6 separate regions of the Homo sapiens genome follow, and all the other regions are linked to region 1. The links are contacts of gene promoters, found by promoter capture Hi-C in blood cells and fetal thymus (Javierre and others, 2016). All regions are on one chromosome and are shown on one strand. The core of a region is centred on a gene start or on the middle of the fragment in contact, and the rest is flanking DNA. Distances in the headings are between cores, read along the strand shown.

What was found. The method cuts DNA at HindIII sites, captures the fragments that hold promoters and counts their contacts. A CHiCAGO score of 5 or more calls a contact.
Region 2: a fragment that was not itself captured here is called in contact with the fragment with the promoter of KLHDC9 in region 1 in 3 of 17 cell types (total B cells, naive B cells and megakaryocytes); the score reaches 5.6 in total B cells.
Region 3: a contact is called between a fragment that was not itself captured here and the fragment with the promoter of KLHDC9 in region 1, in 3 of 17 cell types (naive B cells, M2 macrophages and erythroblasts). The highest score is 6.0, in naive B cells.
Region 4: a contact is called between a fragment that was not itself captured here and the fragment with the promoter of KLHDC9 in region 1, in 1 of 17 cell types (naive B cells). The highest score is 5.6, in naive B cells.
Region 5: a contact is called between a fragment that was not itself captured here and the fragment with the promoter of KLHDC9 in region 1, in 1 of 17 cell types (total B cells). The highest score is 5.1, in total B cells.
Region 6: a fragment that was not itself captured here is called in contact with the fragment with the promoter of KLHDC9 in region 1 in 2 of 17 cell types (total CD8 T cells and activated CD4 T cells); the score reaches 5.8 in total CD8 T cells.

What each region holds. Positions count from the first base shown.
Region 1 is chr1:161,095,692-161,099,627 of GRCh38, forward strand. It overlaps KLHDC9 (kelch domain containing 9), which reads left to right and starts at 2,670. Exons shown (of 4, transcript NM_152366.5): 1 at 2,670-3,371; 2 at 3,655-3,814; 3 at 3,907-3,936. The coding sequence starts at 2,845. RefSeq lists silencers at 2,804-2,983, 3,044-3,093. The HindIII fragment of the contact is 8,697 bases long and covers 1,825-3,936 here.
Region 2 is chr1:161,371,988-161,376,059 of GRCh38, forward strand. No RefSeq gene overlaps it. Among named protein-coding and RNA genes, the nearest start is that of CFAP126, 6.1 kb to the left of the region's middle. The HindIII fragment of the contact is 1,575 bases long and covers 1,101-2,675 here.
Region 3 is chr1:160,664,156-160,668,020 of GRCh38, forward strand. No RefSeq gene overlaps it. Among named protein-coding and RNA genes, the nearest start is that of SLAMF1, 19 kb to the left of the region's middle. RefSeq lists enhancers at 1,266-1,325, 1,339-1,900. The HindIII fragment of the contact is 378 bases long and covers 1,810-2,187 here.
Region 4 is chr1:160,754,732-160,758,408 of GRCh38, forward strand. SLAMF7 (SLAM family member 7) reads left to right here. Exons shown (of 7, transcript NM_021181.5): 7 at 1-90. Among named protein-coding and RNA genes, the nearest start is that of SLAMF7, 17 kb to the left of the region's middle. RefSeq lists an enhancer at 761-810 and a silencer at 2,361-2,430. The HindIII fragment of the contact is 1,098 bases long and covers 1,762-2,859 here.
Region 5 is chr1:160,619,893-160,624,024 of GRCh38, forward strand. All of the region lies in intron 4 of SLAMF1 (signaling lymphocytic activation molecule family member 1), which reads right to left. Among named protein-coding and RNA genes, the nearest start is that of SLAMF1, 25 kb to the right of the region's middle. The HindIII fragment of the contact is 1,693 bases long and covers 634-2,326 here.
Region 6 is chr1:160,805,124-160,809,089 of GRCh38, forward strand. All of the region lies in intron 2 of LY9 (lymphocyte antigen 9), which reads left to right. Among named protein-coding and RNA genes, the nearest start is that of LY9, 11 kb to the left of the region's middle. The HindIII fragment of the contact is 828 bases long and covers 1,069-1,896 here.

The DNA.
Region 1 (3,936 bases), core at 1,420-3,919:
TTTTATTTTTAGTAGAGATGGGGTTTCACCATGTTGGCCAGGCTGGTCTTGAACTCCTGGCCTCAAGTGATCCACCCACCTTGGCTTCCCAAAGTGTTGGGATTATAGGCGTGAGCCACCACACCCAGCCCAATTGTTGGTTTTCTGTATGTACCGAATAATGCTAAGAACCAGAGATGGTTCCAGGGTCAGAAAATGGGGTTAAGGAAGGGAGAAGATAGAGTAAGAGCTTTGTGAAAGTTTGAGGCAAGGGGGCGTAGATTTGGGGCTAGGATAGACATCTAAGGCTAGGTAGGAAGCTGGGTGCTTGCTTGCTAGAGATCATATAGACTCTTGGCCAACTGAGACAAAGCCAACATCAGGGGATCACATCAGGATTACGAGACTTTCAGGATATCCAGTCCCTGCTCTCATTTCTGGACAGAGGTTGTCCCTGGATATTATTAGCAGGTGAAAGCAGGTTCACAGCCCTGGCTGCCCTTTTCCCTGTCTCTCACAATTTTCTCTCAGTTCCCCCTTTCACTTATCTTAATGCCCTTTCAGTTTGTGTATCATTGACAAGGTCATTATAGACCACTGCAGATGCTGTCCTGCGGTGTGAAGCATGTGTCATACAAGTCCAGGTTGGCTGGTTTGCTTTCTTCCTCTCTCTGTTTCTCTCTTTCTGGCTTCTTTTCTCCCTCCTCCAAAATATGGATTTGGTTCAAACTAACCTAAGAAGGTAGGAGTCCTAGGCAGTTCCTCTCCCAGGGTCTTGGGATGGCAAAGCAATGGACAGATGCTTCCAGCTATTAGGAGGAACTGGAAGCATCTAGGTACAGAACTGGAGAGGGTACAGCCAAGGAGTATGTGAGGTTCAAGCTCTATGTCTAACTAAGATGCCTACTGCTAAGGACTCAGAGTCAGAGAGGAAGCTGGGAGAGAGGAGCTGGAAAGGCCCGTGGGGTGGGGAGTTCCCATTTCTATCCAGGAAAGGCAGAAAGTAAGTCTAACAGAACAGCCAAGACTTAGGCAAAAGCAAGAGCCTAAAATGGACATATAGGCCAATAAGGTTTAAGCAAAATTGCCCCACCCCTGAGGCAAGCCCTTGCCTAATCCTAGGAGTATGACAGATCTGAATCCAGCTGTTGGGAGGTTAGCCAGTGAGAAAGAAGCCTGAGGGAAAAGACTGACTTTTAAATTTCAGCCAAGGACAGTAAAAGTTAGTGATTTTTTAGAGATTCTTACCATGATTTTGGAAAACTGAGAATACTGCCTGTCATACTCAGGGAAAGCTATAGTTGGGAGGGCAGAGACTTTCAAAGCTATTGTTGAATCTTGGCTTTAAGGTACAGGTGGGGAACAGGTCCTGGTAATCTTCCAATCTCTGTAACTGTGCCTTTCCTGCCCATGCCATCCCCATGCTGTGTTCTCTGAGGACCAAGAGTTGGGAAGAGGAGGGGAAAGCCCTGCTGTGCTATCAGACCCTGCATTACATGCCCATCCTCACTGCAGCCCTGGCCACTGTCTCCTTTCTTCCTTTCTTTATTTCTTTTCTTTTTTTCTTTCTTTCTTTCGCCAGGGTCTCACTATGTTACCCAGGCTGGTCTTGAACTCCTGAACTCCTGGCCTCAAGTGATTCTCCTGCCTGGCCACTTTCTATGGTCTCAGTATCTCAGGTATGATGGGGAGCAAGGTGATGTGTAGAAACCAAAGGCCACAAGTAGCAGTCATCATTCCCACTTACAGCCCAGTCCCAGAGGACACAGATCCTGTTTTTGCCCCACACCAGCTGTGTTGGGAGGAAAATTCTGTCTGTATTTCCTCCTTCAGCTGAAAGCAGAAAGCTTGCATCTGGGCCTCTTCAGTTATCACTTGGTCCTGGGGGACAGAGTTAATATCTGGAAACTGGCTTAAATAAAAGATATCAGGGAAGGGTAGGAGTCTGTTTTTCTCATTTTCTCACTCTTCCCCCACTTCACCCTTCTAAGGCTGCGTGGGTTCTCTCTCTCTCTCTATCTCTCTCTCTCTCTCTCTCTCTCTCTCTCTCTCTCTCTCTCTCTCTCTGTGTGTGTGTGTGTGTGTGTGTGTGTGTGTGTGTGTGTGTCACCTGAGAGACTGGGTTCTGCTACCCTCTAGTGGCCAGAGCTGAAAGGACTCTCCCACCCAATCAATCGGGACCTTCAAGCCTTTGGGAATAAACGAACAGCCTATTTGATGAATGACAAAACTGAGAAGGCCTAGAGAGAAACAATGCCTTTGAGGGTCAGGGGCATAGTTGGGACTAGAACCCAGGTCTCCTGTCTCTCGGGCCAGTGGTCAGTCCACTTTCACTTCCCCACCCTCTGACTTTTGCTTCTCCTTCCTTGCTCATCCCTGGGGTGGTTAGCCCGAGTAAGAAACCCTGAAGCCAAATGATCCCTCCCGGCCCTAGTGGAGCAGCACCTGCACCTCAAATGTCAAAATCGCAAATCAGTTCACAGCGGAGATCACAGGGGTTTATTCTAAGGACCCGACTGTCCTCCGACTTTCTGAGGTTAACAATCTTGCAGGATTTTTATTGACCTGATACAGCTCCCGTAGCCTTGGTGGCACCACCATACGGTTCCCGATAGCCACCCAGGTGTCCTGTCTCCACGGTAACTGCTGCTTTGCGACCTTCGGTTTGCAGCGGTCGCGCTGCAGCCGCTGCAGTGGTTGCTGGGCGACCACGGAGAGAAAGCCGGGACTTGAGGTGGGAACCCCGGCTGGCGTCCGGTAGGGGGAGGTTCCCGGGGAAGCCCGCGGAAGGCGAGGTGCCTGGCCTGCCATGTAGGGGCTCGTTCCAAGCCGCAGACCCCACCGCCCTCCCTCTCCCCGGGGCCCATGGCGGTGGCCGTGCCCCCGGGTCGGGCCGCAGGCTCAGGCTGGGCCTGGAGGCCAGTGGCGCGGGACGCGCTTTTGGCTAGAGCTTTCCATTCATGCACCGAACTGCGGGGACGGTTCTATCTCGTAGGTGGTCTCCTAGCAGGAGGAGCGAGAGAGCCCAGCAGCGATACGGTGGTTTTCGACCCAGCTAGGGGCCAGGCCGTACGATTGGGAGCCCGGGGCAGCCCCCCGCGCAGTCACCACGACGCGGCACCCGTGGACGGGCGTTGGCTCTGCGTGGTGGGCGGCTGGGACGGGTCTCGCCGCTTGGCCACAGTGACCGCACTGGACACAGAGCGCGGTGTGTGGGAGGCGTGGACAGGGACCCCTGGTGACTGCCCCCCCGCCGGCCTCAGTAGTCACACCTGCACCCGAATCTCTGACCGAGAGCTGCAGGTGGCTGGCCGGGAGGGCGGTATCCACACTCAGCGACGCTATGGAAGCATCTACACATTAAGGCTGGACCCCAGCGCCCGCACCTATTGGTATGGCACCCTCCGCCCAAAACCTTTCACTCTCATCCACACTCTCGAAAAACAAAAGCCTAAGCAGATTTCTCAGGCAATTTATCCACCTCCTCACTCTAGCACCCTCCTTCCAGGGGAACCTACCATGTTTAAGCTAGCTGAGCTCTCTACAGTATTACCCTCCCTCTTATCCCACCTACCGCACTGCCCCATGCCTCTTCTCCATCCATCCTTGGCAAGGGCGGTGGCACTTACATTTTCCAGAAAACCCACTCAGCCCTGAATTTCTGCATGTCCACAGCTACAAGCAAGAAGGCTGCCACACAGCCTCACGCTCAGGTCACTGTGCGGCCCTGCTCCAAACTCCTGGACCCCATCCAGGTCATCAGCTATTGCTCTTTGGAGGTTGCAACTTAGCTGAACCAGAAGTAGCTGGGCATTGGAGTCATGGGAAAATTAAGGTATTAGCTCCTCACACATCTTGTTTAGGATGGGAAGAGGCTAAAATTGTGATGCCCAGGTCTCTTCGGACAGTCCTTTCTTTCTCCCCAAGGAGGAACCACCTGTTGCTCCTCATTTGATG
Region 2 (4,072 bases), core at 638-3,137, 280 kb after region 1:
ATTCCCTAACATATTTGGGTCTGTTTCTGGATCCTCTAACCCACTGTTCTAGAGAGAAAGGTGATCGTTTTAGATTATTTGTCTCTCTGTAATCTAAAATCCAAGGTACACGCTGGGCACAGTGGCTCACACGTGTAATCCTAGCACTTTCGGAGGCTGAGGCAGGTGGAACAGTTGAGGACAGAAGTTCGAGACCAGCCTGACCAACATGGCGAAACTCTGTTTCTACTAAAAATACAAAAATTAGCTGGGCATGGTGACACGTGCCTGTAGTCCCAGCTACTCGGGAGGCTGAGGCAAGAGAATCGCTTGAACCCGGGAGGTGGAGGTTGCAGTGAGCCGAGATTGCGCCACTGCACTCCATCCCCCGGGCGACAGAGTGAGACTCCATCTCAAAAAAAAGAAAAAAAAAGGCCAGGCGCGGTGACTCACGCCTGTAATCCCAGTACTTTGAGAGGCTGAGACGGGAGGATCACGAGATCAAGAGATGGAGACCATCCTGGCCAACATGGTGAAACCCCGTCTCTACTAAAAATACAAAAATTAGCTGGGCGTAGTGGCGCGCGCCTGTAGTCCCAGCTACTCCAGAGGCTGAGGCAGAAGAATCGCTTGAACCCGGGAGGCGGAGGTTGCAGTGAGCCGAGATTGCGCCACTGTGCTCCAGCCTGGCGACAGAGTGAGACTCCGTCTAAAAAAAAAAAAAAAAAAATCCAAGGTGGAGTCCTGGCTTGATCCTATGTGAATTCTAATATTTAAGATTTCAGGCCGGGCGCGGTGGCTCAGGCCTGTAATCCCAGCACTTTGGGAGGCCCAGGGGGGTGGATCACAAGGTCAGGAAATCGAGAGCATGCTGGCTAACACGGTGAAACTCCGTCTCTGCTAAAAATACAAAAAATTAGCCCGGCGTGGTGGGGGGTGCCTGTAGTCCCAGCTACTCGGGAGGCTGAGGCAGGAGAATGGCGTGAACCCGGGAGGTGGAGCTGGCAGTGAGCCGAGATCGCGCCACTGCACTCCAGCCTGGGCGACAGAGCGAGACTCCGTCTCAACAAAAAAAAGATTTCACTAGGAAATTGTAATATCAGTAGTAACAGGCAATTTTAAGCTTCTAATAAAAGTGTATTGAATTTTAGCCTTTCTTCAGATGAACTGGTTGACTTCAGGTACAGCAGATGGTCTTTTACTAGGACCAGATTTACTTCTTCCAAAGTTGGAAGGGCTCTTTAAAGGCCCCATCCTTTACGTATGCCTTAAGATACTTTTTTCCATTCACTTAAATTCTTTGATGACTGAAACTAAACCATTAGGAAATCTTTTATTTGGACTGAGATTATCTGCTATTGAAGTACAAGTTTAACCTGTACTCTATAGGCGATGTGTACATTGGACCTACGTGAAGGCAACCACCAGCATAAGTACTAGAGTCACATTGCCTGGATTAAATTCTGGCTTTGCCTAAATGTGTGGCCTTACACAAGTTAATCTTTCTGGGTCTCAGTACCCTTACATGTAAAATGGGGATAATCTTAGTTTTGAGCATTAAATATATGTAACATGCTAATAGGGTGCAAGATGCATAATGAATGCTCAATTATTTTAGCATTATTATTGGCTTAAGACTGCCAAGTAAGAAGTACTCATTCAGGTTACCTTAAACAAAAAAGGGGAAGTGGGGAAATTATAATTAATAGGAGTATTTAACAGATTCCAAAGGTAGGAAGTATAGTTTGGGCTTCAAAGGATACTAGAATTTCAAAGATAGAACATGATCAGAAAGATTTTCTGTTTCTTCTTTATCATCTCTGTTTCTCACTGCCTTTATTCTTTTCTTTTCTTTTTTTTTTTTTTTTTGAGATGGAGTTTCGCTCTTGTTGCCCAGGCTGGAGTGCAATGTGCGATCTCGGCTCACCGCAACCTCCGCCTCCCGGGTTCAAGCGAGCGATTCTCCTGCCTCAGCCTCCCGAGTAGCTGAGATTTTAGGCATGCACCACCACACCCGGCTAATTTTGTATTTTTAGTAGAGACAGGGTTTCTCCATGTTGGTCAGGCTGGTCTCGAATGCCTGACCTCAGTTGATCCGCCCACCTCAGCCTCCCAAAGTGCTGGGATTACAGGCGTGAGCCACCGCGCCCGGCCTCCCATGGCAATTTTTAAAACCAGAAAAAATTATTAGTAACCCCTTCATAGTAAAAATGGGGCATTTATCTCATCTATTACACAGTGTAACCACCTGAATCACTGTCTCTAGTTATACCATCAGCTCTCTACTAAGGTTTCTTCTAAGTAGCTCCAAGGTGCCCTCCATGTCACCTCACTGGGTCAGGTGTTGATGGGTCTTGGATAGGAGACCTGGCTTTTGCCCCATTTCCTGGGCTAACAGGATTTCATCCAACCAAGCTACTGGCCAAATTTTGAACTATTCAAACACCCTGGTTTTTGTAGATTTCCTTATAGGAAATGAAGGCGTAGTTCTGACCCCTGAAGAGATGCATGGCTACAAATGTAAAAGCTATAGTTTCAAAACTTCTCTATAGAGTTAAAATAGCTGATCCAGTTTTCTTTCCTGAGACTAAGGCTCCCTCTCTCGGAGACTGCTGTTACATCTCTCCTTTCCACTGACAATACCACAAAAGAATAATATTCTTGATAAGATCCCCTTCCTGAGGAGCCAAAGAACAAGCTTTGTATACTCCCCACACACTGCCTATGGGGTAGCCCTCTCTGCAGCATTCATAGAGCTATTTAACACTATTTCTTTTTCTTTTCTTTCATTCCTTTTTTTTTTTTTTTTTTTTTGAGACAGAATCTTGCTCTGTTGCCCAGGCTGGAGTGCAGTGGCACCATCTCAGCTCACTGCAACCTCCGCCTCCCAGGTTCAAGTGATCCTCCTGCTTCAGCCCCCCTCCATAGCTGGGATTATAGGCACACACCAGCATGCCCTGCTAATTTTAGTATTTTTAGTAGAGACAGGGTTTCGCCATGTTGGCCAGGCTGGTCTGGAACTCCTGACGTCAGGTGATCCACCTGCCTTGGCCTCCCAAAGTCGTTGGATTACAGGCGTGAGCCACTGTGCCTGGCCTATAACACTATTTCTTAAAACAAAACAAAAAGACCAAAGAACAAGCTTTAAACAACCAAAATGACTGAAAAGACATCAGTATCTCTCACTAGTGGTGTGAATTAAGTTTGTTTACTTGCATAACTAAGAATAAATGATGGTTATAATGGCACCAGTATAGGATATCTTGGCTATGTGCTTTAACAATATACAGGTTGACCATGAAGTCTGGAAATAGATACTATTATTTTATCATGTATTTAAATATATTAATAAACCATTAATATGTATTCATTAACTTTTCCACATTTCTTGGCAATCTTGTAAATATAGTACAACTATCAGTAAAGAGAGATTAGGGGGCTGGGCACGGTGGCTCACGCCTGTAATCCCAGCTTTTTGGGAGGCTGAGGCAGCGGATCACTTGAGGTCAGGAGTTCAAGACCAGCCTGGGCAGCATGGTGAAACCCCGTCTCTACTAAAAATACAAAAACTAGCCAGCTGTGGTGGCACACGCCTGTAGTCCCAGCTACTTGGGAGGCTGAGGCAGGAGAATTACTTGAATCCGGGAGGCGGAGGTTGCAGTCAGCCGAGATCGTGCCGCTTTAGTCCAGCCTGGGCGACAGAGCGAGACTCCGTATCAAAAAGAAAGAAAGAAAGGGTTTAAATAAAGAAAGAGAGAAAGAATGGGTTTACCTACCTATTAAAAGAAAATAGTTTTCACATTGACAAAGCAAAGTCCAACACTGTGCTATATAAAAGAGCTACATCTAAGAAGAGTTTCAGGAAGCCTAAATAAATGACTAAGAGATGTACCAGAATTTATTCCTAAATGTAAGCAGGGGTTGCAGTTGTAATTATCCATCAAAGTAGAATTCTGACTAAAAAGCATTACTTTTAATGAGAAAAGAGAAAGAAATTTTAGCCACAATTTTTATAAAGATAATGACATTTTATACAAGGAGAAATAGAAGCACACTATAATAGGAGGACTAACAAATCCCTCAGATCTAGAAA
Region 3 (3,865 bases), core at 749-3,248, 430 kb before region 1:
GGTGGGAGAGAAGGAGATCCATTGGAGAGTTATCTCATAGGTGGATTTTTCAGGGTTTGGTGACTTATTGAATGTGGGCTGTGAAGGAGAGTGGCCTATATACTATGGCCTTTACACTTCCAGTTCAGTTTCCCAGTAGATGGCAATGCCATTCTCTAAGAAAGGAAGTATAAGAGGTGGAGATAACTTAGGGGCAAAATTGAGAGCAAGGGGTATAAGATTATTTGTTGGCTTGGGATATGGTCAGTTTAAATGTTTACGGTTCATGCATATGGAGATTTCCAGGGGCTATTTGAAAACACAGAGCTGACTTTGAGAGGAGAAGTATAATCTGAAGGAAAGCAAACAAATATAGAAGTCATATTTTCAACTCCTTCATTTCACCCCAAGAAAGCTAATACTTAGAGACTAAAACTTCTAAGGGACTTACCATATGGCTAGTTTTTGAAAAGCCGTAACCAGAAACCAAATCTCTTGGGTTTAGGTCAATCCACCCATATCCTGATTGAGTTTCATTATGCTCTATTTACCTTCATGGTTCCCCAATCTAACAATGCCTGGCATACAGCAAGTGCTAAAAATGTTTGTGGAATGAATATACTGATTGTGGCCTTTTTTGGTGGGGGTAGAACTGGCCCCACACCTTCACATCATCACTGGAATTATGCCTCAGAAGCATCTTGGAAGTCAGCAGACCTAGGGAAGTCCTACTTAGCCATGAAATTTGCATTTCCCCAGGTACCTCCCAACCCCTCTCCACTTCCTCTGAGAGCAAAACCTCCGTTGTTCATGTCACACCCATGGGCAGCCTTTGTGCTCAGTACACAGACCTGATTGAGAAGATTGATAAAAGCAAAATAGAAAGAAGCCGTGATCTGGGTCATATGAGTTATACAACCATTTCCCTCTTATTTTACACTTGGGGAAACTTAAGCTAAGAGATCTTGTCTTAATTCATTAAAATTAGAGTTGCCAGCCCAGAAGAGAGGAAGGAGAAGTTTGGGACAGAGGAAGGCAACTAATACTTATTGAGCACTTACTGTATGGCAGACTTTATGTGGAATGATTTATTGAGGTTATCTCATTTAATCCTGATTTTAAAAATCATCCACATACGGAAACCGAGGTTTAGAAAGTTTACTTTTCCTGAGGTTCAGAAGCTGGTAAATGACGGTTCTGGAACTCAAACTCAAGGCTGTCTGGCTCCAAAGGTCATGCTCCTTCCCCTATACCACACAACCTCCCAGAAGCTTGAAATGTGGTTCTGGGTACTAGGTATAAGCTTGAAGACCAACCAAACATGCTCATTCCAGTGCTCTCTCTAGGAGCCAACAAGCCCTCCAACATTGCCCCCCTAGAAGGTCCTGCAAAATTGAGTTGTCTAGGGTTTGACAGAGTCCAGAAGACATTTTCGAACATAAGAAGGGCAATGGGTCAAGCCCCAGGGAGTACCCAGTAGTATCAACAAAGAAAGGAGAATGTGTATTTGACTTCCAGCCTCAGCCCTGCTGGTAACTTGCCAGACGGCCTTGGCCTGGCCACTTCCTTCCTGTCCTCCACCAAGATTACAGAAAATTAGGAAATGCAAATTTTATGGGCTTCCCTGCTGACGATTTCTAAGTCTTCTTTGTAGTAATCATTCCTATCACAAAGAGGGTGGGAAACGGTGATTATGGACCAGGGAGAGAGTCCTATTCCTAAGAAGTGGTTCTTGGACTTTGGAGAGGCAACAATTGGTTTGAGTCTTAACAAATGAGTGGGAGTTTGTTAGGTCAACGAGGAGTGGGAGGGGATTCCAGGAAGTGTAAAAGCTTGAGCAAAGGCATTGAGTAAATTCGGGGAACTGCTAGCAGTTCAGGAAGGTTGCAGCATTCAGTGCAAAGGAGGGGCCAAACTAGAAATTGGACAGGAGAAAATCACAGAAACCAAGCCACATAAGGATCAGTAGAACCCTGTAGGCTCTCCAACGAGCCTATCCTTGAAGGATTTAAGCATGAAAATGTTGTCATTATTAAACCTAGGCTTTAAAGAGGTCCTTCTGCTCTGTGTTGCTGTCCTCTGCCAGAGATAGCAAGACTGACAGAGGCTGTGCTCCTGTAGCCTGGGAGCCAGAATGGAGAGACACATTGGGCAGAGCCCGGCAGAGTCACAGGAACTTGTAGTCCCCATCTGTTTATTATTCATGGAAGCTTTCTCCTTTTCTTGATTGGATCAACAGAAAAATAAACTGTCGTCTTTGGCAGATGATTCAATGGGAATTCAAGGGTTTCAATGGGAATTCAAGGTTGAAAATGATAATGTACTCTGAGAACTCACAGGTCTATAAAAGGAGAGGCCTATACAAGGAAAGAAGAGGATGTGGTAAATGCAGAACAGACCCTCAGCATCTTGAAGGACCATCAAGGGGAAATAAGTATTGCAGACCTTTCATTAATCTGTGTAGTTAACTTTTTATTTGAAAATAATGTCAAAAGAGCTGCAAGAAAAAATTATTATTAATAATAGTACAAAGAACACGCTTATAAATATCCTGCAGGGAGGGGTCTACAAGTTGGCTGTGACTGTGAATACCTCTCTGTAATGTTTTGCCCATTTTGCTTTAATATTAGCTAGTTCTCTCTCTCTCTCTCTTTCTGTCTCTATTTGAACTATTATAGGGTAGGTTGCATATGGCATGGCTCTTTATCTTAAATACATCAGTGTAAAGAATTAGGATAATTTCTGACACAACTACAATATAGTTATCACTTAAGTAAATTTTACATTGATAACAATATTCTTGTCTAACCTACTGTTTGCATTTCAATTTTGTCGGTTGACCCTTTGTAACCATAATTTTCCCTCCAGGTCAGGATCCAGTCCAGTATTAGGTATTGCATTTAGTTGTTGTATCTCTTTAGTACCCTTCAACTGTAACATTTCCACAGCTATATCTTCTCCTTTATGACATGGATATATTTGAAGAATGCAGTCTTCCCACCCTTTCCCTTTTTTTTTTTTTTTCTTGAGGTGGAGTCTTGCTCTGTCACCCAGGCTGGAGTGCAGTGGTACAATCTCGGCTCACTGCAATCTCCACCTCCCGGGTTCAAACGATTCTTCTGCCTCAGCCTCCTGAGTAGCTGGCATGCACCACCACACCCAGCTAATTTTTTTGTATTTGTATTTTTAGTAGAGATGGGGTTTCACCATGTTGGTCAGGCTGGTCTCAAACTCCTGACCTCATGATCCGCCTGCCTCAGCCTCCCAAAGTCCTGGGATTACAGCCTCTCTTTTTTAATAGCAAATTCCTCACTTGGGGTTTTTTGGTATTTCCTTATGATTAGATTCACATTATGCATTCCCAGACTAGGTACTACACAAGTGACATTGTACCCTCAAGGTATCACATCTAGAGACCCTTGATGTCTTCTCATCGATAATGTTAATTTTAATCACCTGGCCAATATATTGCCAACAGATTGCCAGATTTCTCTATTGTATAGTTATCTTTTTTGATTTTAACTAATAACTATGTGTTGGCATACAGTGGAAGGCCATGCAGACATCTTACTCCTCATCAAAATTTCCTCTGAGATTTAGCATCCATTGATAATTTTTGCCTGAGCCTGTCTTAATTGTGATAGTTACAAAATAATAACTTTCTTCACTTTAGCACCTCACTCCATATTTGGCATTCTATTGCAAGCAAGAACCCTCCCTTTATCTATCTGATCTATCGCATCTGTCTTCTCTAGTCAGTTTTGGTAGTCTGTGTGATTCTTGAAATTTTTCCATTTCGTCTAATTTATTTCCATACAATTGTTCATACTATCCCCCTTGTAATCATTTTTATTCCTTTAAAGTCAATAGTAATATCCCCTTTTAA
Region 4 (3,677 bases), core at 1,061-3,560, 340 kb before region 1:
TCTCTCTCCCTACTGCAAAACCCTATTGTAGTAAAAAAGTCTTCTTTACTATCTTAATAAAACAGATATTGTGAGATTCACATACAAAAAGATGCATTATTTTGCTATTTGCAATAGTGAAATTCTGGAAACTGCCAAAGAAACTGACCACCACAGGTGAAGGTCTGTTCATACATAGACATTAAGAATTATGGGTTAGGCCGGGAGCAGTGGCTCACGCCTGTAATCCCAGCACTTTGGGAGGCCGAGGCAGGTGGATTACTTGAGGTCAGGAGTTCAAGAACAGCCTGGCCAACATGATGAAACCCCGTCTCTACTAAAAATACAAAAAATATTAGCCGGGCATGGTGGTGAGCCCCTGTAATCCCAGCTTCTTGGGAGGCAGAGGGAGGAGAATTGCTTGAACCCAGGACGGGGAGGTTGCAGTGAGCCAAGATCGCGCCACTGCACTCCAGCCTAGGCGACAGAGCAAGACTCCATCTCAAAAAAAGAATTATGGGTTATACTCAGCATCATGAAATATACCTGTGTAACCTACACATGTAGCTTCTGAATCAAAAATAAAATTAAAAATAACAAATTTTTAGCATGTGCCTGTGGTCCCAGCTACTTGGGAGGCTGAGGCAGGAGGATCTCTTGAACCCGGGAGGTGGAGGTTGCAGTGAGCCGAGATCGCACCACTGCACTCCAGCCTGGATGATAGAGTGAGATTCTGTCTCAAAAAAAAAAAAAAATTGTTTAAAAAAAACTATGGGTTGGCCAGGAGTGGTGGCTCATGTCGGTAATCCCAGCACTTTGGGAGGCTGAAGTAGGAGGATCACTTGACCTCAGGAGTTCAAGACCACCCTAGGCAACTTAGCAAAGCCCCATCTCTACAAAAAAATACAAAAATTAGCCAGGCATGGTGGTGCATGCCTGTAGTCCCAGCTACTCAGGAAGGAGCTGAAGAGGGAGGGTCGCTTGAGCCTGGTAGGTTGAGGCTGCAGTGAGCTATAATTGTGCTACTGCACTCCAGCCTGGGCAACAGAGTGAGACTCTGACTCACAAAACAACAACAACACAACAACTATGGGTTTTCAAGTTAGAAAATGTTATGACATCACAAATATAAAAAGTAGAATGCAAATTTAATGTGCTATATGATTACAGCTGTGTTTTAGAAAAAATCTCTACAGGGAAAAATTTGGAAGAAAAAACATCAAAATAGTAACACCAGTTGTTTAGGGAGGGTGAAAGCTTAGGTGGCTTGGTTTTTTCCTATTTTCATTCATTTTCTGAATATTCCTCAATGAGAAAGTATGTATTGCATAATAGAGTAGAGGAAATTTTAAATAGGTGCTCAGTGAGAAAAACGAGGCACTACTCACTACGTGGGGTTGAGGGGAAAGTCTGAGACCCTCATGGTAAGGGTGTGGGGGAGGATGGAAAGACCTCCTCGAGTGAGAATGGGTGGGGAGAAAGGAGAAACCCTCCACATAATGACAGAGGAGAAGATGACTTTCCCTCAGAGAGGGCTGCTGGAGGCTGAGGGGAGCTTCACAGTGTGTGAAGACAGAGGCGTGGAGAGGGGGATGCTGGGACTGAGGATGCATCTGTTCTGCCTTCCCCTCTCTCCTCAGAACCCATTCAGATGATAAATAATTAGGGTTAATCATACTTTGGGGTTTTTTAAACCAGTGACTGAAACAGGACCTAGGGAGACCAATAGATCTGGTCTCTGGACACTCAATAAATTCTGTCCCAAAGCTAGTTGCAGAAAGAAGCTTCCCCTCATGAGTTCAACCAGTAGGCAAAGGAAACCACCAGCTCTTCAGGGTGAGAAGTCACACCACCTCATAGCCCCATTACATGCAGCCTCCAGAACTGTGTGGTTTGCAACTTGTGAGGTGCAAATAACAAATTCGTAAACATTGAAACCTTGGTGGAAAGTAAAGAAGGTATCTGTACCATTTCAGTAAGGCTTTCACTCATTCATTTGATCATGTATGCATTCATTCATTTATTCATTCAGCAGTACTTATTGAGCACCAGTAAGTGCTGGACATTATGCTGAACTCAGGGAATACAGCAGTGGGCCACAACAGAGGTCTCTGCCCTCAGGGTGCTTACATTCTAATGACAGAGGCCAACACTCAAATATCCTTTAAATAACATGGTTGCAGTGATGACTGCTATGAAAGAGAGGTGTGTGGAGCCAAGAATGGCAAATTTTCCTGTGGTCAGAGACAGTATCTCCAAAGTGATGAAGACTGAGCTGAGATCGGAAGATGAGTAGGAGCTACTTACAAGAAGTGGGAAGGGAAAATAAAACCCTTCTAGCCAGAGGTGCAAAGGCCTTGTGGTGAGAGGACCTAAAAGAACGAAAGTCAGTGTGGCCAGCAGAGAGAGTTGCACTTTTAAAATTTCATTAGTTGCAGTATGGGAAACAGATTGTAGGGGGTCAAGACTGGATGTAGGCAAACTGAGTCAGAAGGCTCTTACCGTTATCCAGGAGAGAGGTGATGGTAGGTTGGACAAGCATAGTAGGATGCAGAGAGAGGGAAGGATGCTCTCAAGAGGTATCTAAGGGATAAGGAGGTTCCTGCTTTCAGTACTGTCTTGGGAATGTGTGCTGATCTGGAAAAGGAGGTGGGAAGATGGGCCTTTGCTTTTGATAGCCTCTTGGGACTAGAAGGACAAAGTTTGGAGTCTGGGGCTACCAAGGTTAGAGAACTGGTAAATCCCTCATCTTTTTGACTTGGGACCCCAAAAGACTTACCCTAGGAGACTTATCCTTCTTGTAAACAAGAAGTACACCAGTTTTAATTCATCTATGGGGCCAAGAAAATCTCAAAACTGGTATTAGATTAAAGAGATCCAAGCTTACGAGTGCCCACAAGTACCTTACAGAAGCAAACAAAGACCATCACTAAAAGAAAATAACATTCTTAGGCCTCACAATTTTCCTACAAATAATTTTTCATAAGCAATGTTCATCATATGTTCAGAGATATCCAGGCCCATGAGGAGGATCCAGGCCCATGGGGATCATCCTCCTCCATGAGGAGACCCATGAGCAAGACCCTCCTGGTGGGGACAGCCTATCACAGACTGCAGCCCAGGATGCAGCCCGGCCCACCTCCCTCTCATTTCATCCCAAGAAGATGGAAGGAGGAACTTCCAGCCTCCTCAGTTCATGTACTTGTAGACAGACTTTAAAGATGTTTGGAGTTCTGACTATAGTCCTAAGCATACTCTTTATTGCAATCTGTCAAGAACATAGCCAGCAACAGGGAAGAGTTGATAAACCATAACATGATCATTTATAATATTTAATGTTTAGTACAGTCACAATTGCCAATCATTGTTCTAAATAATACATATATATATGTGTGCATGTATATACATATGTACATTTATTTAATCTTCATAACAAACATAACCATTTTATAGATGAGGTAGTTGAGACCAAGATTGTCTTTTGTCTAATTGGGTTTTGTGGGTTGTTTTGTTTTGTTTTGTTTTGTTTTGTTTTGTTCGGCTCATATGTATTACTGCTCTAGGCAGTATTAATTAATTGATTAATTTATTTAAAATTTATTATTTTAAAATAAATGCTGGTACTGCTTGTCTTTACTAATTATAAAAGTTATTTTTTCCTGCAATTAAAACTTATTATGCGTCTACAATGTGCTCCC
Region 5 (4,132 bases), core at 230-2,729, 480 kb before region 1:
GCAGGAGCTCCTTACTCAGACCTGGTCTTTACTGTCCTTTGCATACCCACTTTCCCCAAGGGCACAATGGAAACAAAGCCCTGAGTCCCAGCCCCCCTGCACATTTGTCATATTGTCTTAGGTTAGTTACTTGATCACTCTAGGCCTATCTGTGAAATGGGATTTGAAATACCTGCCTCACGGGGCTGTTGTGATAATTAAATGAGATACCACTTGTAAAGTGTTTAGAACACTGCCTGGTGCATAACAAATGCCCAATACGCATTAGGTGTTTTTCTCATTGGTGTACCATTCAATTACTTTAATCTCTGTTGCTCAATGTGCATATCTGGTCTCCTAATAGGATTCTAAGTTCTTTGAGGGCAGGGCTAGTTGTTTATACCTCTTTTGTATTTTCCAGCTGGTAGTATGTTGCTTCACTCACAGCTTTCTCACCTCCCTATTTCTGGGGGAATTGATGTGTGGGAGGTAAGGGCGGGGGGACGTGTAAGAGGGATGTTCCACCTGGGACTATTTAGAAAATAAAGCAACAATGTCATTCTGTTGCCCACCATCTGGAAATTTTGCTCAGGGCCTAGGGTCTCTGGAAATTAATAAGTTGCAGAATATTTTAATTTTTAGCCAATTTTAAAAAGCTTTCTTTTTAAATTATAGGAGTAATTTATTCTCATCATAAAATAAAAATTGTGAAGAAATATATAAAGTATAAAGTAAAAAGTATAAATCCCCTTCTTCCATTAACCAACCCAATTTCATTCCCAAAAGAAACCGTATTTTTCAATACCTGTGAAAAGAAGTGGGAAAAAAAAGAAGAAACCATTTTTAAAAGTTTGATGTATATCCCTGTAGATCAGCTCTGTGCAACAGAACTTTCTGAGATGATGGAAATGTTCCATATCTGCAGTGTCTAATACAGCTTACAGACACGGGGCTATGGAGCACCTGAACTGTGACTAATGTCACTGAATTTTAAATTTTATTTAATTCAAATTAATTTAAATTTAAAAAGCCACATGTGGCTAGTGACTACCATATTAGACAATGCAGTTTTGGATATTTGCTATACTTATATAGACTTTTTTCCACACAAGAGGTGTCATTCTGCACACACTTCTCTGTAACTTGATCTTTTCACTTAAAATGTATTGAGGACATTTTTCATGTTAGCACAGTAGACCTATCTCATTCTTTCTAAAGTTGCACAGTATCCTTTGTATACATCATGCAGCAGTAAGGATGGTGGGAAAGTGGCAGACTGAAGGATGGAGGTTTATTATGGGATTATTGCAAAGTCCAGGCAGAGGCAATGGAGGCTGGACCCAGAAAATCACAGCCTTTAAGGTAGACTTATTTTAACACCAGTTAATTTATTCTCTTAAAAAACTGGGCTGGGTGCAGTGGCTCACGCCTATAATCACAGCACTATGGGAGGCTGAGGTGGGCAGATCACGAGGTCAGGAGTTTGAGACCAGCCTGGCCAACATGGGGAAACCCTGTCTCTACTAAAAATACAAAAATTAGCCAGGCATGGTGGCACGCGCTTATAATTTCAGCTACTCAGGAGGCTGAGACAGAAGAACTGCTTGAGCCCAGGAGACAGAGGTTGCAGTGAGCCGAGATCATGCCATTGCACTCCAGCCTGAGTGACAGAGCAAGAATCTATCTCAAAAAAAAAAAAAAAAAAAAAAAGGCACATCTCTGAGGAAATAGCATTTTTAGGAGAGGCACATTTTTCTTTGGAAGGGAAAGGCCCAGTGTGTATGTGGTGAGCATGGTGGAATGTGCTGCGTGAGGGTGTGAGTCTTGGGGAGGAAATGTGGGGCAGACACTGATGAAGTTCCAGGAATTCAAGGAAAGTCAACATGGGATTTTTTGTGTGTGGGTATGAGCACGGTGTGCCTAGTGGTTTCAACTTCGCTTTTTTGGTCAGAGTTGATCCTGACTGAGGAGTGTGCGTGAGTGCGTGTGTGTGTGTGTGTGTGTGTGTGTGTGTGTAAAATGGAGGGGAGGACTCAAGAAGCAGTTGGAGGTAGCAGAGGAGGTTCAAGTTAGTCCCCACGAGTGTTTGCAAAGTAAGACATGCCTGCCCAGCACTCTCCTAGGTGCTGTAGTGGCTACAAATAGAGTAGAGAACAGACTACAGTCCTCAAAGACTTTCAGTCTTGCAGGTCAGCTCAGAGTCAAATGTAGAACTGGAAGGACAGTCCTAAATGGTCAGACAGATGGAAGAGGTGAGGTTGATTGTTGCTGCTTAAAAGGACCATTGGACCAAGATAATTTAGTCTCAGGTTATTTTCCCCAGTGCAAGAACAGGTTTTTAGGAGTAAGCTTAACTCGGCTCCAAGTCAGCAAGGTCTTAGGCTCTAAGGAAAAAGTCTTGGCCTTAAAATTAGGACATCTACATTGTAGCCATCATTAGCTGTGTGGCATTGGACAAATCACGTCATCTCAATGGGTCTTTTCTCTTACCATAACTGTAAAATGAGGGCATAGAGTATCTAATATCCTTTTCAGCTTTTACCTGAAGCATAAAGTCTTATGTTACCATGACTTAAAATATTTTCAATCTGTTCTAGGTATTGTTTCCAGATGCTTCCAGTGCAGCTTCTCCTGGCCATAGCACTTACACATTGCCATTTTAATTCATCTACACTAAGAGATCTGTCTATCTGTCTATGTATCTATCTGTCTATGTATCTATCTATCTATCACCCATCGATGGGAACCACTGTGTTCAGTGTTTTCTGTGTATTGATACCAATCTCCACCACAATACCATGAAGTACATAGTATTACCCCTGTTTTGCAGACGAGAAGTTAAGTCATTTGATCACACAGCTTGTCAGTAGCAAAATCTGCATCTGAATGTAAGTTTGTCTAATGCCTATACCCACATTCTTTATCAGTGTATTCTCCTGGACATGAAATTGCCAAAGAGTCATGAAATTGAAAAGCCTTCAGCGTCAGGCTGCATTCTGATGATTATAGCATTAGAAGCTGCCAATATAATTTCTTTAGCAAGGTTTTATGAAAGGTGCAGCAACTAAATATAAATTTTACCGCAAGTTTGAGGCAGTTTTGTGTGTTGCTAACTTACAAGGGACAAATGGTGAATGGGGTTGAGGTGAGGATGGGTATGTGTGTTGGGGAAGGTAGTGGGGAATTGTGGGATGGGGAGCACTATTCCCTTAGAGCACAACCATGTGATAAGCCAAGTGTGGTTGAGGAAAGAGTATGGCGTAGGATCCCAGCAATTTTACTAGGTAGGTTAATGTGGATAAGTTAAGTTCAGTTTTCTCATCCTGGGTCATCTCACTATTTCCTTATAGTATGAGCTAAATGTGATTGCCCTACCCCGAGCCCCATAGGCTGTCAACCTAATTTCTATCTGAATCACCCATCCCTCCTACCTGGCTAACTCTTAGATGGAGGAAATGAGACACAAGTAGGTCGCTGTGCTATGATCTAGATTTTTTTATATATGCAAAACCAACATCAGAGTGCTGAGGTAAGGGCTTTTCTAAGAAGGTTGTGTGTAGATGACACTGATCTACTTGAGAATGAAATCAGTCATCAGCTCAGTGTTATGAGGATCAAGTTCTATCCTTACCATGGGAAGGCAGCCGGGGCATCTCTCCTGGTCTTGGGTCAGGACATTTTGACTCCAGTATTGGTTGGTAGTAGTCAAGGTGGCTGAGGGGAGCACAATGCCCTGAGATATTGTATCATAGGGAAATTTGGAAGAGAGGACAGGGGATGGTACCTCTAGGCACTTCAACTGCAGGGGAATAATTGTGCCTTATTGGTTTCATTCTAACCCTGGTGACTTTTTGGATGAGATCCAATAATTTTCTGAATTCTGTTCCCAGTGAATACTCTTAAACCTCTTGTTCACTTCTTCAGCATCCTGTGTTTACCCTGATGGCAGTGCTAGTCACACTAAACTGAAATTATCTGAATAATGTCTCTCACATTAGAAACCTGTGGCTCTTCTATTTCTTTCCACAGCCTAGTAGAGGGGATCAAGACATGTTGAATTAGACTGAATTAAGCAAGGTCCCAGGATATGTTTATCTACTATTTTTGCAAAGGTGGCCCCATGCAGAAAGCCAGAGTTGTGAGAGCAAGTCCG
Region 6 (3,966 bases), core at 233-2,732, 290 kb before region 1:
TCTTTTCTTCTACTAATTTTGGGCTTAGTTTGTTCTTGCTTTTCTAGCTCCTTAAAGTTCATTGTTACATTATTAATTTGTGATCTTTATACATTTTTCATGTAGGCATTTATTTCTATAAACTTCCCTCAGCACTGCTTTTGCTGTACTCCATAGCTTTTGGTATGTTGTGTTTTTTTTTTCATTTGTTTCAAGAACTTTTTTTAAATTTCCATCTTAATTTCTTTGTTGACCCAATGGTCAGGAGCATGTTGTTTAATTTCCATGTATTTGTATCATTTCCAAAGTTCCTGTTAATATTGATTTCTAGTTTTATTCCATTGGGATTGAAAAGATATTTGATATGATTTCAATTTTTTAAAATTTGTTGAGACTTGTACTGTGGTCTAACAAATAGTTTATCCTGGAGAATGCTTCATCTACTAATGAAAAGAATGTATATTCTGCAACTGTTGGATAGAATGTTCTGTAAATATCTGTTAGGTCCATTTGGTCCAAACTCCAATTTAAATCCAATGTTTCTTTGTTGATTTTCCATCTAGAAGCTCTGTCTAATGCTGAGAGTGGAGTGCTGAAGTCCTCCACTACTATTCTGTTGCAGTCTCTCTCTCTCTGTCTCACACACACACACACACACACACACACACACACACACACACTCTTACTCTCACTCTCTCTCTGGTAATATTTGCTTTATGAATTTGGGTGCTCCAGTGTTGGGTGCATATACATTTAGAGTTGTTATATCCTCTTGCTGGATTGATCCCTTCATCATTACATAATGGCATTCTTTGTCTTTTTTTTTTTTTTTTTTTTTTACTGTTTTTGACTTAAAGTTTGTTTATTTGATATAAATATAGCTAGCTATTCCTGCTTGCTTTTGGTTTCCATTTGCATGGAATTGTTTTTCCATTTCTTTACTTGTAGTCTATATATCTTTACTGTTAAGGTGAATTTTCATGTAATTAACATATAGATGGATCATGTTTTTAAATCCATTCCACCATTCTACATCTTTTAAATGGATAATTTAATCCATTTACATTCAGAGTTACTATTGATATGTGAAGCTTTTTCCTGTATACTGTTAATTATTTTCTGGTTGTCTCATATATTCTTTGTTTCTTTCTCTCTTATTGTTTGTCACTGTGGTTTGGTGGGTATCTGTAGTGACATCATTCAAGTCCTTTCTCTTCACCCTTTGTGTGATTGCTTTACAAATGAGTTTTATACTTCTGTGTGTTTCCATCATGGTAAATGTCATCTTTTGCTTCTGGGTTTAGGATTCCCTTGAGCATTTCTTGTAAGACCCCATCTAGTGGTAACAAATTCTCTCAGCATTTGCTTGTCTGGGAAACGCTATTTCTCCTTTTTTATGAAGAATAATTTTCCCAGATATAGTATTTTTGGTTGACTCTTTGAATATATTATTCCATTTTCTTCTGGCCTGCAAAGTTTCTGCTGAGGAATCCACCATTAGCCTGCTGGGCTTTCATTTATAGGTGGCTAGATGTTTTTCTCTTACTGTTTTTATGATTTACTCTTTGACTTTAGATAGTTTGACTGTGATGTGTCATGGAGATCTTTTTGCATTGTATTTTCCTGGGAATTGCTGAGCCTCCTGTATCTGGATGTCTAAGAGTCTTGCTAGACTTGGGGAGTTTTCTGCTATTGTTTCATTAAATACATTTTCTAATCAGCTCTTTGTCTCTTTGCCCTCAGGGATGAAATAATTTGAATATTTTATCACTTTATGAAGTCCCAAATGTAACAAAGGTTTAGCTCATTCTTTTTTATTCTTTTTATTTATTTATTTTTTGTTTGGCTGAATTATTTCAAAAGACCTGTCTTCAAGTTGTGAGATTCTTTCTTCAGCCTAATCTAGTTTATTGTTGAAGCTTTCAAGTATATTTTGTATTTCCTTCAGTGAAATCTTCAATTCCAGAATTCTATTCATTCTGTTTTTTAAATATCTATCTCTTTGGTTAATTTGTCATTCATATCCAAAATTGTTTTTCTGATTTCTTTGTATTGTTTTTCAGAATTCTCTTGTATCTCACTGAGCTTCTTCTTATTTTTTTAAGTTACTTTCATGGGGAGGTCTTTTTCCTGAATATGTGTCTATTGTGTTGTTGGGGTAGGGCACTCTGGCTTTGATTCTGGGTGCATGCAGTAGTATAGTATTTGTATGATTTATTTGGCTGTAAATAACATTAGTGGTATCTGTGATTTCCTCAGTAGGTCAGAGTGTGTTTATTAGCAGAGGCTGTGGTGAAGTTGCGCTGAGGATTGAAATGTCAAGTGGGCCAGTCATCAGGCCACAGTGGTGGCAGCATACCTATCTTTGTGCCTCAAGGCAGTGTATGCTGTCACTTGTGTTTATGCTTATCAGCAGGTCGATTTTTAGGTCTCCAGGTGGCTTGCTCAGATACCGATAATGGCAGCAGTGGACTGAAGGGTGGTGAGCAGGCTCTCAGGCCCCCTGGCAGTCAGTGTGGCATGGGGAATGACAGTAGTGGGATGATTCTCTGGGTCCCAAGCAGTGTGCATTGATGTTGATGGTGGCTGCAATGGCCTGGGCAGACCAGTCTCCAGGACCACAGGTGGCACTTGCAGGTAGGTGGTAGTGGCTGGGAGTTAGGCCCACCCTAGGCCCCTGTGGAAAAATGCTCAGGTGCCCAAGGCAGTGGATTGGGTTGGGCAATCCCCAAGATGCTGGCCTATGTGTTCTCTTTCCAAGGGGGAAGGGGGAAGCCAGGCTGAGTGGGCTTGCACTCAGGCCCCCCAGTGGTGAAAGCAAACACCAGCTATGGTATGTGGAAGCAGGGCCATCCTCAGGCCCCAGGCAGAGTGCTCAGGTGAGGACAGTAGCCGCCACCGTGAGGCCCTGCCACTGGAGAAGGTGAGGCCAGGTTCAGTGGCCACAGCCTTGGATGGCAGATGGGGAATATGCATCCCTCTCAGCCTCAGTCCTAGGAGGGCTTCCCCCAAGCCAGCACTAGCTGCAGGAGCTTTTGCCCAGCTTGCAACCAAGTTGCAGCAGCAGCTCACAGCCCACTACTTTACCCAGTCTCAGTCACAGCAGCATTCACTTCCTAGGACCAGAAACTGCAGCCCACACCTCTCTTGCTACTTAGCTCTACCTGCAGAGTGCTCCCAATCCATACTCTAGTCTTGGCAGCAACAGTTTTAGTTTTCCTAACACCTCAGACCCAGCACTGTTGGGCCCCAGGACAGCGTGCATTCTGCCAAAGGCTCAGTTTGAAAATGGTCCCTTACTATAACTGCAGAGGTCTCAGAAAGAGTATGGAACCCAGCAGGAGCTCCCTCCCTGGAGCAGTTCCGCCCCACAGTCTCCCAGCAGCTCCCTATGGTAGTTTCAGGGATTGGGAGGGTCAAAGGGGTCTCATGTGGCCAGGACTGCATGATTCTGCAGTGGGATGTGGGCCACTGGAGGTCTCTCGCTCACCTCTATTGGGAAATCACTCCCAGCTCCCAGCAGATCTCAGCCAGGGAGGCTGTCTCTGTTCCTTCTCCTTCCCTGCTTTTAGTGTTTCCTGTCACATCTCTGTTGAATTCCAGCATTCTCCCTTGGAAAATGTATTTGAAATATGACTGTTTGTATACTACTTTTGTTCTTCTAAGTAGAGGAGGTAGGCATTAAATGCTTCTAGTCAGCCATTTCGAAGCCCCTTCTCTTGATCTTTTATTTTTAAAAACAGACATTCTTTTTCTCCAGGAATTTCTCTCTCTAGGATAAATATGACTACTATATTGATCGTTTTTCACCTAATTCCATATACACAGATGTCAAAATTAGAAGACACACCCGTAAATTCCTTACATGTTATATAATCGCCATAATTCATGTAACGGGTCTCCTACTTGTAGAAATATTGTTTCTGCTTATAGAAATATTGTTTCCAATATTTCCTCTTATAAACAATGCTGCAATGAATATTCTTG